Linked DNA regions of Homo sapiens: all the other regions are linked to region 1. Evidence: promoter capture Hi-C in 16 types of primary human blood cells and fetal thymus (Javierre and others, 2016). All regions are on one chromosome and are shown on one strand. Each heading gives the region's core, a stretch centred on a gene start or on the middle of the fragment in contact. The rest is flanking DNA. Distances are from core to core; before and after follow the strand shown. Region 1 holds the start of ZRANB2-AS1 (ZRANB2 antisense RNA 1). Region 2 has its middle 48 kb from the start of LINC01788. Region 3 has its middle 110 kb from the start of LINC01788. Region 4 overlaps LINC01788 (long intergenic non-protein coding RNA 1788). Region 5 has its middle 87 kb from the start of LINC01788.

What was found. The method cuts DNA at HindIII sites, captures the fragments that hold promoters and counts their contacts. A CHiCAGO score of 5 or more calls a contact.
Region 2: a fragment that was not itself captured here is called in contact with the fragment with the promoter of ZRANB2-AS1 in region 1 in 4 of 17 cell types (megakaryocytes, erythroblasts, endothelial precursors and 1 more); the score reaches 6.7 in megakaryocytes.
Region 3: a fragment that was not itself captured here is called in contact with the fragment with the promoter of ZRANB2-AS1 in region 1 in 1 of 17 cell types (erythroblasts); the score reaches 5.2 in erythroblasts.
Region 4: a contact is called between a fragment that was not itself captured here and the fragment with the promoter of ZRANB2-AS1 in region 1, in 1 of 17 cell types (M2 macrophages). The highest score is 5.5, in M2 macrophages.
Region 5: a contact is called between a fragment that was not itself captured here and the fragment with the promoter of ZRANB2-AS1 in region 1, in 1 of 17 cell types (erythroblasts). The highest score is 5.1, in erythroblasts.

Annotation. Positions count from the first base shown.
Region 1 is chr1:71,045,163-71,047,862 of GRCh38, forward strand. ZRANB2-AS1 (ZRANB2 antisense RNA 1) reads left to right here and starts at 1,344. Exons shown (of 3, transcript NR_038420.1): 1 at 1,344-2,427. PTGER3 (prostaglandin E receptor 3) reads right to left here and starts at 2,654. Exons shown (of 4, transcript NM_198719.2): 1 at 1,519-2,654. The coding sequence starts at 2,415. RefSeq lists an enhancer at 2,068-2,651. The HindIII fragment of the contact is 6,286 bases long and covers 1-2,700 here.
Region 2 is chr1:70,656,903-70,659,602 of GRCh38, forward strand. No RefSeq gene overlaps it. Among named protein-coding and RNA genes, the nearest start is that of LINC01788, 48 kb to the right of the region's middle. The HindIII fragment of the contact is 1,700 bases long and covers 450-2,149 here.
Region 3 is chr1:70,593,144-70,595,843 of GRCh38, forward strand. No RefSeq gene overlaps it. Among named protein-coding and RNA genes, the nearest start is that of LINC01788, 110 kb to the right of the region's middle. The HindIII fragment of the contact is 1,151 bases long and covers 790-1,940 here.
Region 4 is chr1:70,728,782-70,731,481 of GRCh38, forward strand. The region is part of intron 5 of LINC01788 (long intergenic non-protein coding RNA 1788); the gene reads left to right. Among named protein-coding and RNA genes, the nearest start is that of LINC01788, 24 kb to the left of the region's middle. The HindIII fragment of the contact is 7,441 bases long and covers 1-2,700 here.
Region 5 is chr1:70,617,863-70,620,562 of GRCh38, forward strand. No RefSeq gene overlaps it. Among named protein-coding and RNA genes, the nearest start is that of LINC01788, 87 kb to the right of the region's middle. The HindIII fragment of the contact is 1,067 bases long and covers 890-1,956 here.

The sequences.
Region 1 (2,700 bases), core at 94-2,593:
CCTCATGTCACTGATTTGGAGCCAAGGTTTGTGCTCCAATCTACCAAACCAGGTTAAAGAAATTACATTTCTATTTTCAAATGCAAGGGATTTAAAAGTATACATGGCGCACAAAAAACTCAACGTACTTAATGCCTAATGCCACTGAACTGTACACATAATAATGGTTAAAATACTGAATTGTATGTAATATATTTTACCATAATTAGGAAAGAAAAAAAACTGCGTTCACGTGTTTCAAAGGTTTTCCACAACTGTATAATACATATAGTTGGTTATACCTTTGTAACAGTGACCATATCGCTCTTTCTGCAACATCTATTAACCCAGACACCCCAGGGCCTAAGTAAGCATCCATTCTTCAGGAATTAGTAAACAGCACTTACACACGGACATTTCTAGCTAAAAGTAACACAGACAAAAAAACCTCAAAAATATCACGTAAGGGCAGGTGTTAGGCAAAGAGCCTCTGCAAACATCCCTTGCTCCTCTGCATTGCTCTGGTGTGAGGAGCTAGGACATGGAGAAACCTCTACCTCCTATCTCAGGATTAGCGAACCCTGCTTGAGTGCTACAAGGGTAAGTAAATGCTGGCCTGAAGAAGCTGCTGAGCTTCCGGATCCCACTGACTGTCGTTCGGGCACTTCCTAGAGGGTCAAGCACCATGGCGAAAGGCTGAGGAGGCAACTCGTATCTTTCATTCTCCTGCCTCATCAAGAATGAACCTTGAAGGCACCCATAGGTCGCGCAGTCTTTCAGAAGCTGCAGGAGGGCTGTGACTGTATGGGGTTGCAGACTGAAAATCTTATTAACGTGAAAGAGGAATTTGAAATTAAAAAAAAAAAACCCGGCCGGGCGCGGTGGCTCACGCTTGTAATCCCAGCACTTTGGGAGGCCGAGGCGGGTGGATCACGAGGTCAGGAGATCGAGACCACGGTGAAACCCCGTCTCTACTAAAAATAAAAAAAAAAAATTAGCCGGGCGTGGTGGCGGGCGCCTGTAGTCCCAGCTACTCGGAGAGGCTGAGGCAGGAGAATGGCGTGAACCCGGGAGGCGGAGCTTGCAGTGAGCCGAGGCTGCGCCACTGTACTCCAGCCTGGGTGACAGAGCGAGACTCCGTCTCAAAAAAAAAAAAAAAAAAAAACCCCACAATATCAGGCTACAGTTATCATAGCAATTCTGCTTTTAATGCACTCAGGACAAACTTCTAGCTCTGCATATATGTCATTTCAATGACACATCCTGTCTCCTACCCGACTAGAATGTGAGCAGCCCTGTGATCTCTATGTGCTCATAAACAGTGCCTAATGCGAATCCTGGCTCTTGGAAGGCGCTCAGCTAGTAAGTGAGGAGCTCAGCTCTGAAGCTGTAACCAAGACCGCGCGGGCAGGAGGAAAGGACACTTCAGCGCTCTGCGGTTGCAAACACACCCCTGCGGGTGCTGCCACTTAGCAAAGTCTTAGGTTCCCGCTTACTCGCACACGCATCCTGACTTCCCCCAACCCTGGAACTACCTACCAGGAGCGGAGACCAGCAGACCGACAGCACGCACATGATCCCCATAAGCTGAATGGCCGTCTCGGTCGTGATGCGGCCCCACTGGGCACTGGACTGAGATGCCGTGGCCTTGGCCCGGCAGCGGGACACCAGGGCCTTAATGGTGGCCAGGTTGCAGGAAAAGGTGACTGTCAGCGCCAAGAGCCCCAGGAAGGCAAAGGCAGAGGCGAAGAAAAGGTTGCCCCAGTTATGCGAAGAGCTAGTCCCGTTGCCCCCTCGCCCGGTGCTGATGAAGCACCACGTCCCGGGCCACTGGACGGTGTACTGGCCCACGCCCAGCACCGGCAGCAGGGCGAAGGCGAGCACGGCCAGCCACACGCCGAGCAGCACAGCGCGGGTGGCACGCGTCTTCATGTGGCTCGCATACCAGTGCGGCGCCCTGATGGCCAGCGCCCGCTCGACGGCCATGGCGCTGGCGATGAACAACGAGGAGAGCCCGAAAACAGTCATGGTCAGCCCGAAAAAGGTGCAGAGCCGCCCCGACGGGTCGATGTGCTCCCAACGCTGCTTGGACAGGTACACGACGATGACGACCGGGGTGGTGAGAAGCTGCCCGACCAGGTCGGTGAGCGCCAGCCAGCCGATGCACAGCAGGAAGGACTTCTTGCGCTTGCTCTCCCGGCGCCGGTAGCTGCGCGACACGAGCAGCATGGCCAGTGCGTTGCCCACGAAACCAGTGAGCAGCATGGTGATCGGGAAGGCCACGGACACCGATCCGCAATCCTCGCCAGACCCTGGAGGGCGCGTGAGGTTGCCCCGCGCCTCGGCGGAACGCTCGGGCGCCCACATGCCTGTGTAGGAGTGGTTGAGGCGGGTGCAGAAGGGGGCATCCCCTCCGTAGCCCCGGGTCTCCTTCATGTTGGCTTCGAGGTGAGGAGGGGATGGCGTCCAGAGAGCCGCAGCGGGAGGGGGCAGACGCGGCGCGGGCGGCGGCGGAGGTCGGCGTTTACCGCGGCTGGGGCTGGGCTGCCCCCCATGGTGCGGGGCGCAGCCGCCGCCCTACTCCGCTGCTGGGACCGCGGCCGCGGCGGCGCCAGGGCTCACTGGCCCGGGAGGGAGCCACGCCTTCCTCTCTGGGAAACCTCTGGTGGCGAGGCGCGCGGAGGTGCCGAGTCCCCTTTATAAGGCCGAGGGGGCGGGGCG
Region 2 (2,700 bases), core at 50-2,549, 390 kb before region 1:
TACTTATTAACTATTGTACTCGTTTGTTATTTTTAACCTTCTGTCCTGGATTGTTGTTTCACTCTCCAAGCACAAGATAAACTTCCCCAGTGCATCTGTAAACTTCTTATAGACAAGGACAATTATTATTATCTTATTTTTAGAATTAAGATTATTGGAAATTAACACTGATCATTCAAATTTCAAGTTATTTTGGAAACTTTACATTCAAAAACTTTTTATGCCTTCTTACATATTTCCCTATAACCAACAGAAGCATTCAAAGTTAAGTTTTGAAAGTTGGAGTCATTTATTAAAAAACAAAAAAATGCACATTAACTAGTCTCAATAATTTAAAGCTTCACAATTAATTTTATATTTGAGGATTTCTTTGTACCTCTAGCACTTTCCAAATTTAAACTAAGTGCTCAGAGTTTTATGTACAATTATCTTGGATATGACTTTACCTAAGCTTATGTTTCTCACCAACTGGAGTACTAATATCCCCTGGGAAAACTTGAGTTTGTAGCAGGGATACTTAAATGCAATAAAATAAATATGATAAATAATTTTTCTAAAAAGTGCCAATTAACTCAAGAGAAATAAATCTTAGGTTCACACAAAAACCCATATGGAAATATTTACAGTGACTGTATTTATAATCACCAAAGACTGTGAACAACTCAACTGATTAATGGATATTCAACTTTGGTACATCCGCAAAATGGAACACTGCTCAGTGATAAAAGGAAAAAAATGATTGATTCATGCAACAATATGGAAGAATCTCAAATGTCTTATGTTAGTGAAATAAGCCAAGCTCAAAAGGCTTAATAGTGTATAAGCCCAATTATATGACATTGTGGGAAAAGACAAACTACAAGTACAGAGAACAGATCAGTTGTTGCCAGGAGCTGGGTGGGAAGGGGTTGACTATACAAAGAGGCATTTTTGGGGTGACGGATTGTTGTATATATTGATTGTGGTGTGGTTACATGACACTATACATTTGTCAATACTCATAGAATGTACACCAAAAGAGTAAATTTTACTATATTACATTTAAAAAATTATATGACAAGAAGCCTATGATGGCAAGATGTTATAAAATTTGTGCTTTCAGTATAGTAATTTGTTACATTTTCTGAAGTAATTTATCTATGTATTTCCAGATTTCCTTCCTTCCTTTCTCCTTCCTTCCTTCCTTCCTTCCTTCTTCTTTCTTTCTTTCCTTCTTTCTTTCATTCTTCTTTCTTTCTTTTTGTGTCTTACTCTGTTGCCCAGGCTGGAGTGCAGTGGCACGATCTCCGCTCACTGCAACCTCTGCCTCCTGGGTTCATGCAATTCTCCTGCCTCAGCCTCCCGAGTAGCTGGGATTACAGGCACATGACATCACGCTTAGCTAATTTTCATACTTTTAGTAGAGATGGGGTTTCGCCATGTTGGCCAGGCTGGTCTCGAACTCCTGACCTCAGGTGATCTGCCGCTTCGGCCTCCCCAAGTGCTGGGATTACAGGCATGAGCCACTGCCCTGGGTCTCCAGATTTTCATTCAATTATTCCATACTGAAAAATGTATCCTAAGAAAATCATAACAATATGAAAAACCTAAATACATAGTGATGTTCATTACCTTTTTAATTGATGAAAATGCTGCCTTATTGCTTTTACTTGCATTTCTGTATTTGCTAGCAAAATTTTATATTTTTCTTATGTTTGTTAGACAGTTTTATGAGAAAGAGTAAGATTAATATCCTCCAGTGGTTGAAGAGTAGCAGATCTTCTGTTCTCTTCTCAACAAACATACAGAGCCATTCATTTCTGTGAAATAATTACAGATAGCCTGGGATTTAGTAAAATTTTTACTGTTGTTGTAGAAAAATAAACACATTGACATAAAAAATACGATTGCTAGTCAGGCTATTTAGTAAGATTTGGGTTTAAGAGTCTTTAGAACATTTTTATCGTTGAAAATTTGTCCTCAAATTTTAACTTTTCTAATTCAGTCAGAACTCTTGAATTTCATATGTTTAATATAAGAATATGGGAAATGAAAACCACAAGTTTTGTGCATTCATTTTCCTTGGGAGCTTACAATTTTGAACTCAACCCAAACTTTTCATTCTTTTGCATTCATTTAATTTTGGCAAAAGGTGCCTTTTCGTTCATGAAGCTTTTAAACTGTCCATTAGATACTGCAAAACAACATTTTGAAGAATGAAAAATAGATGAATGTAAACCACAAAATGCTTTCTTAAAAATGGCCATGTATTTAAAAAATAAATAAGGAAAGTGCTATAAAAATGTGCTAGGATAAGGTGAGAAGGTAAATATTTGTGAGTGTGAAGACCATCTGTAGCAATGACAAAAACTAGAGATACAGTGCCTCCTCATTCATGATTCAGTCACTAAATGTTTCTTGAGCATCTACTATGTCTACAATGTTCTATGCACAGTGATTTTTTTTTTGTTTTACAAAGTAGGCAACAATCCCTTCCTTCATGGCCCTCACATTCTAGCTTACTCAGAAACGGGAACAGGTGGAATTTAGTTCATCCTCAGGTGTTTTTTTACCTTTTTGCTAAATACATACTATCTTATGTAAAGTTAATGACATGGATAAAACATTGAAACGTGTATTCTACTACATTTTTCTAGTCAACCTTTCTCTTACTTCCAGAGAAGACAGTTTTCCTGTCCTTAAACCTTTGCCTTTCTCAAA
Region 3 (2,700 bases), core at 115-2,614, 450 kb before region 1:
TCCTGGTGCTATCCCCAAACTGCCACTCTAAACTCTTGAAGTAAATAAATAATCTTTGCTGGCAGGACTATGCTGAATCTCCTTAGGCACTCTCTAATCAGGTGTCCTGGGTCCTCCCAATTCTTAGGCCTTTTATACCTGTTTTTCTCCTTCTCTTATTCCATTTAGTTTTTCAATTCATACAAAACCATATCCAGGCCATCACCAATAATTCTACACGACAAATATTTCTTCTAACAACCCCACAATATCACCCCTTACCACAAAATCTTCCTTCAGCTTAATCTCTCCCACTCTAGGTTCCCACGCCGCCCCTAATCCCGCTCGAAGCAGCCCTGAGAAATATCGCCCATTATCTCTCCACACCACCCCCCAAAATTTTCACCATCCCAACACTTTACCACTATTTCATTTTATTTTTCTTATTAATATAAGAAGACAGGAATGTCAGGCCTCTGAGCCCAAGCTAAACCATCATATCCCTGTGACCTGCACGTACACATCCAGATGGCCCGTTTCTGCCTTAACTGATGACATTCCACCACAAAAGAAGTGAAAATGGCCTGTTCCTGCCTTAACTGATGACATTTTCTTGTGAAATTCCTGGCTCATCCTGGCTCAAAAGCTCCCCTACTGAGCACCTTGTGACCCCCCACTCTGCCCTCCAGAGAACAACCCCCCTTGACTGTAATTTTCCTTTATCTACCCAAATCCTATAAAATGGCCCCACCCTTATCTCCCTTCGCTGACTCTTTTTGGACTCAGCCCACCTGCACCCAGGTGATTAAAAGCTTTATTGCTCACACAAAGCCTTTTTGGTGGTCTCTTAATACGGACGACGCGCATGAAAGTAATCATCTCTGCTATATCCTTTCAGTCCTGCCAGAAACACTTAGAAATGGATTTGGTAGAAGGAAGAAAGCAGGCTAAGAGATCTAGTACTTCAGCACTACATTGTAGGAAGCAAGTGAAAGCCAAGAAAGCAAACATTTTGCCACTTAATGTAATTTCACCAATAAATATGAGGTGCCAGAAAATTGATGTTTAGGTCCCAGGAGGCAAAAGATGGTTTAACTTTACTGCCTACTTTAGTTCACTTTTAGGCATGGTTTATCAGAAAAAATTTGAGACATGGCACTAACCTTTATTAATGAAGGTATTAACCTTTATGTAATGAAAAGTAGCACTTCTTTTCCAAAACCCCATTACAGCAACATGTGTAAATGTTGCACAAAAAGACCTATCTATGCAAATATATTGTCACTCAGAATGAATTGAAAGCATTCAAATAATTTTTTGTAAATGATTATTTGGTATTACAAACTAAATCAGGTGAGAGATGACTTTGTCAAGCACCAACTCCCAGATTCTCATTTCTCTTGACCCTTGACCACGCTGAGGACCATATACCAGGAAAACTGCACCTGAGCAGGAGAATGGATCTAACCACTAGAATTTGTTTTTCAATGTGTCCTGAGAGCACGCTTTTTGACCATGGTCCTTCCTAGGCCTTACTACCTTTCTCTCTGGGAACCAACACAGAAATCTTTCTGTGACTTTCTGGTTCAAAGAAGCTGAAGGAGCTTACAAGCCAGAGGTAATGATATAGCCCCAGAACTTTAATGATGCATAAAAGCATATTAGAGTAATTTCATATTAATATAAAAATCTTATTTTTCTTTTTCTTATATAACCTAGTTTAGGAAAATAATAATAACCATAAAGTAAGAAGTGATTAGTGCATTACCCTTTGGAAGAGAGTCTACCTTTGCTGGCCTCTCCCTCTAGGGTCAAATTTCAGAGTGATTTTGATGCTGGTGCTCTAGAGCCACCATGTTTATTTCCTTGTAGAAATTAAGAAGCAAAATGTTAGTCATTAATGGGAAGATGCCAGAGAATGCAGAGCCATTTTTAGAATAGGGGAGTCAGCATTTCTAAAAAGCTTGTTATATATTCATGAGATTTCTTTTATTATTATTATTATTATTATACTTTAAGTTTTAGGGTACATGTGCACAATGTGCAGGTTAGTTACATATGTATACATGTGCCATGCTGGTGCGCTGCACCCACTAACTCGTCATCTAGCATTAGGTCTATCTCCCAATGCTATCCCTCCCCCCTCCCCCCACTCCACAACAGTCCCCAGAGTGTGATGTTCCCCTTCCTGTGTCCATGTGCTCTCACTGTTCAATTCCCACCTATGAGTGAGAATATGCAGTGTTTGGTTTTTTGTTCTTGCAACAGTTTACTGAGAATGATGATTTCCAGTTTCATCCATGTCCCTACAAAGGACGTGAACTCATCATTTTTTATGGCTGCATAGTATTCCATGGTGTATATGTGCCACATTTTCTTAATCCAGTCTATCATTGTTGGACATTTGGGTTGGTTCCAAGTCTTTGCTATTGTGAATAATGCTGCAATAAACATACATGTGCATGTGTCTTTATAGCAGCATGATTTATAATCCTTTGGGTATATACCCAGTAATGGGATGGCTGGGTCAAATGGTATTTCTAGTTCTAGATCCCTGAGGAATCACCACACTGACTTCCACAATGGTTGAACTAGTTTACAGTCCCACCAACAGTGTAAAATTGTTCCTATTTCTCCACATCCTCTCCAGCACCTGTTGTTTCCTGACTTTTTAATGATTGCCATTCTAACTGGTGTGAGATGGTATCTCATCGTGGTTTT
Region 4 (2,700 bases), core at 54-2,553, 320 kb before region 1:
AAACTTAGGCATTGTGCTTTCATAGTGCTTGTTACATCTTCAATTAAGCATTTATCATGTTATCATTTAATTATGTATTTATCTTTTCAGTTAGGCCATGCCAAATATAGAGGCTATGCATTTTTCACTGTGGTACCCAGTCTCCAAAATAAAACAGCATCTGGCACATAGCAGGCACTCAAATACTTTTTTTTTCTTAGTGCGGTGTGCAAAGCCTTCCTATGACTTGCCTCAAATGTGTGGCCTTGTGTTTCATTACTGCCTACCCCTGGACCCTTGCACTAGAAATGTCCCCTGCACTTCTATAATATGCCATGCTCTTTTACTCCTTGTTTCCATCCCCACTTTTATGATGGTATGATTGTGTGACTGCGGTACTCACTGCCTAATCCACCCTCACTGTAATACCCCAGGCCCACACAAGCACACACACTTGACTAACTCCTACCTGTCCTGCAATAATAAACTCAAACACCATTTTCTCCAGACTGCCTCTTGGTTAGAACTCTGTTTGGGGACACCTCTTATATGTTGCCATTTGTACCCTCTGCATGTAACAATAACCAATATTTCAGGCATTGGCCCAAGCGCTTCCCTATACTAGCTCATTTAATCTTCACAATAACCTTATGAAGTAGCAACTATTAGTAGCTGCAGTTTCAAATGAGACCAGGAGACTCAGAGAGGCTGAATAATTTCTTCAAGTGGCAAGTGGCATGCCAGAATGAAACCCAGACAGTCTGACTTCAGAGTCTGTACTCTTAAGACCTTTCTGTTCTACTTCTTCCACAACAATGCATAACATCTTTATCACAGTATTCATTATCCATCACTGTAATTTCTAATCTTCTTTTCTTCTATGCAAGCCTAGACAAAACACACTATATTCAATGCCAAAGACTTAGAAGGTAGATAAATACATCTGGAAGTCATGTAGTTAGCTAGATTTCAGGACATAAGTGGGCTTTGAAATAGATCTTGAAGAAACAATTGGTTGTGTGCAAGGTAGCAGTGGCAGAACAGACAAGGTTGGGTGAGCCAAGTGCTAACTAGGCTGACATGAATCCTGAGTGGTTAGAGGAAGGTGAGATGAGGTGATTATAGCTCAGGTGATGATGAAGGAAAAGAGTTTATGCTGGAAAATGTTGGGGACTAAAAGCCACAGGAAGGCAGTGATGGGATGTGATTTGTGAAGTCTAAGAAAGTTTGCAGTAGCAGTACTTTGCATGCTCTGGGACTATATACACTGGCAAAGGGAAAAGGGAAGTGAAGCATTTAACTGGTAAATTTCAAAAATATAAGTGGACATATGGATAATTCAGGTATGTACCTCCTTTTCTAATGTAGTGCTGGAATGGCCAGATGCCCCCCCATGAATAGCTGATAAGTTTTCTTATATCGACAAGTACAACATATGTTAATTCAGTGTTTCTAATACATCAACTTCCTTTACAAGTTGTTTTGCCATATCCGTGTACTCCTTGTAATTTTATTAATATTTTTATTTAAATCAATTTAGATCTTAGAAAACATATACTTTTTTCAAAGGTAACATTATATAAATAAAAAACCATTTGCCTTCTCTTAAAAAGAAGATAAAAGTAGTCAAGACAAAGATATTGACCATAAACCGTATAAATCATCTCATATATTATGAGTAATACACATACTATGGTTTGGAAAAGATTGCATTATTTCTTTAGATTGATATATACATATTTTCATTGTTTTATAAGTCAGGCAAGCAAAGCTAGGGGAAATTAAGTTGGTGCTTAAGGTCACACTATTGCTCACAGAAAAAGTTAGGACAAATACCCAGGTTGTGTGCTCTAATCTGGTATTTATTATAGCCCAAAAGAAGGCAATTGCTAAGTAGGGCCCTGAAAAGACAAAACCTAAAGCGGGGTTGGTAGAAGTGTGCTCCCAGTGTGACCAGGGAGCAGGGTGGTGGCATTGGGACCTGGCTAGATAAAGAGGCCCCAGGCTATTTAAATATCCTAGATGACCCTCAGTGAGAAAGATCTCTGGGAATACAGCTTGATATTGGGGTCTCCATCCTCACATCCACCCATCCTTGGCCACTTAAATTCAATTCTGTTCTGAAACCCATAGTAGGGCTAGAAATAATTTCCAGCCTGGAAGCCATTTGGAGGTCCTGAGGATAGCCTACACCTATTTAGAAATTTTTATCTCTAACAGATGGTGGTTCTGTGAGAGGAATCTTTGGGATTAAACCAGAGGCCAAGCCTCTGGATGAGCTTCCGTCAAGTGCTTGTCCTCCAGCTTTTTTCCATGGTGCTTTGAGAATCCATCTGGTGACATCCAATCTGTAAATGTCATAGAGCACAAGAAATATGGGATGGCCTCAGTCTGGGATAGAATAAATAAGATTTTAGGAAGCTCCTGAGGGAGTCCAAGTCCTAGGAACAATGCTAATAACTATATATCAAAGGAGAATTAAATGACACATTCCTTAGAATTACACATTAAATATTTAATTAAGTATGTAGTAGGTGCTAAATAAATGCTTATTAGGAAAATATAACAGTTTTTGAAGTCTTTCCTCAATGGCAGATTATATACTCAGTTGAACCTACCTTTTTAATAGGTAACAATGGTTCAATATTGGTAATTTCAAATAGTTCAACCTAATACTTTGGCGGAAAGTATGAGTTGGGCATTGTAGACTCTGTAGACTCC
Region 5 (2,700 bases), core at 173-2,672, 430 kb before region 1:
AGAGCTTCAAGAATCTTCATAGTGATCCCTTGAATTTTGGCTGAATGCTAAGCTGCACATGCAAAGAGTGACTCCATGAGGTCTTGCAAAGAATAGCTACAGGGTTTTTTTTTTGAGCTAAAGAGTCTCCATAGGTTGCAAAGTGCTGAGGAACATTGGTTTTTTGACCAGCTAGAACACCAGAAACATTAGTTGAAACCCCAGAAAGGCCATACTTTAAGAGGTTTACTCCAGCCTCAGAATAAGGGCTACTCCTGATCTTTTCTAGTAAAGCTAAAACAAAGCATCAACACTGTCAATTTGACTTGCCAGTAAATTAATTGCCTTCCAAAACAAAACTCAACACCCTTTAATATGATTCAGTCACACAACAACCTGACTGTCTTAGCCTATTAGGACTGCTATAATGAAATACCATAAACTGGGTGATTTATAAATAACAGACATTTGTTTCTCACAGTTCTAAAAGCTGGGAAGCCCAAGATCAAGGCACTGGCCAATTTTGTATCTGACAAAGGCCTGCTTCCTAGTTCATAGAAGGGTGACTTCTTGCTGTGTCCTTGCATGATGGAAGAGACTAACTAGCTCTATGTGGTCTCTTTTATAAGGGTGCTAATCCTAATTATGAGAGCACTGCCTTCATGATCTAATCACCCCCAAAGGCCCCACCTCCTAATACCATCATCTTGGGAATTAGGATTTCAATATATAAATTTTAGGAGTGGGGAAACAAACATTCACACCACAGCAATAACATTCACAATGTTTGGCATCTCCTAAAAGATAGTTAACATTCAAAGAAGCAGAAAAATGTGACCTATAATAAATAGAAAAATCAGTCAATATAAACAGATCAAGAAATGACAAAGATGATGGAATCATTAGAAAAAGCTTATATAGAAATTATATATATATGTTTAGAAAGTACATATATATGATTAAAATTTTATAGGAACAAATAAATATAATAAGGAAAGAAATGGGTAAAGTAAAAAAGAAACAAATGGTACTCACAGAGCTAAAAATACAATTAACCAAATGGAAAATTCATTAGGTGAGTTAAACAACAGATTAGACACTGAAGAAAAAATGGTAAGTGATCTTAAAGACATAGCAACAGAAACTATCCAAGATAAAGACTTTTAAAAAAAGACTGAAATAATATGAAAAAAGCCTCAATTACCTCTGAACAGCCTTTATAGGCTTGCACATTTTCAGTAACATAGGCTCCACACTCAGGAGGGGCCTCACTAGGTTTAGTGCTGTGTCATTGCCTCTTAACATTCTCAACAATTTTTGAATAAAGAGTCTCTCATTTTTATTTTGCACTGGCCCTCCAAACTATGTAGCTGGTCCTGACTAGAGGATAATATTAAACAGTCTGACATGCATGTACTTTGAGTCCTAGAACTCTCTGAGGACAATGGGAGATACAAAAATATTTGAAGACTAATGGTAGGAATATTTCCAAATTCCTTGATATAAATCTGCTGGCTCAAAAAGCTAAGGAAACTACATTAAAAAAAGGAAGAAGACAGTACTACAGATAATCATAATCAAATAGCTGAAAATCAGTAATAAAGAGAAAAACTTAAACGCATCCAGAGAAAAGTTAATATGGGGGAACAAAAAAGAATTACCACAGATTTCTCTTCAGAAATCATTCAAGCCAGAGACAATGGAGCAATATCTTTAGTGCTAAAAGAAAAAAAAGTAAAACCTTTAACCTAACATTTTATATCAGGCAAACATCCTTCAAAATTAAAGGCTTATTCAGACAAAAAATTCCTTAGGGATTTCATCACCAGCAGGCCTAAACTACAGGGAATATTAAAAGAACATTTTCAGGCTAAAGAAAAATGATAGCAGATGGAAATCTGGATATATAAAAAGCAATTAAGAGCATTATAAATAGTAAGTAAAAATCTCAAGATTCTTTAAAGACAACATAATCCAAGCTTTCAGCAATACAGAACTCATAATAATCAGAAGGCAATTGATAATTAGTGCTAGTCAACATATAAGGGAGCAGGAAAATGTGACCTATTGCCAGAAGAAAAAATCATCAATAGAAGCTAATGAGAATGTGAGACCATGGATTATTTTTAGTTAGTAAACTTTTTTTTTTTAGAACTGTTTGAGGTTCACAGTAAAATCAAATGAAAAGTACAGAGAGTTCTCACATACCTCCTGTCTTGACACATGTACAAGCTTCGCCCTGACCATTGACATGCTCCGTCTGAGTGGTACATTTGTTACAAGTGATGAACCTACACTGATACATCGTTATCACCCGAAGTTGATAGTCTATATTAGGGTTCACTGTTGTTATTGCACATTTGGTAGGTTTCAACAAATACATAATGACATGGATCCACCATTGTATCATACAGGATAATTTCACTGCCCCAAAAATCTTCTGTGCTCTGCCCATTCATGTCTCCCACTCTCATTAACCCCTGAAAAATCACTTATCCTTTTCCAATCTCCATAGTTTTGTCTTTCCCAGAATGTCATATGGTTGGAATTATACAGCATATAGCCTTTTCGGATTGGCTTCCTTTCACTTAGTAATATGCATTTAATTTTCCTCCATGTCTTTTCATGGCTTGAAAACTCTCTCTTTTTTTTTCCAGTACTGAATAACATCCCATTGTTTAAATGTCCCACAGTTTATTTATCTTTTCACCTACTGAAGGA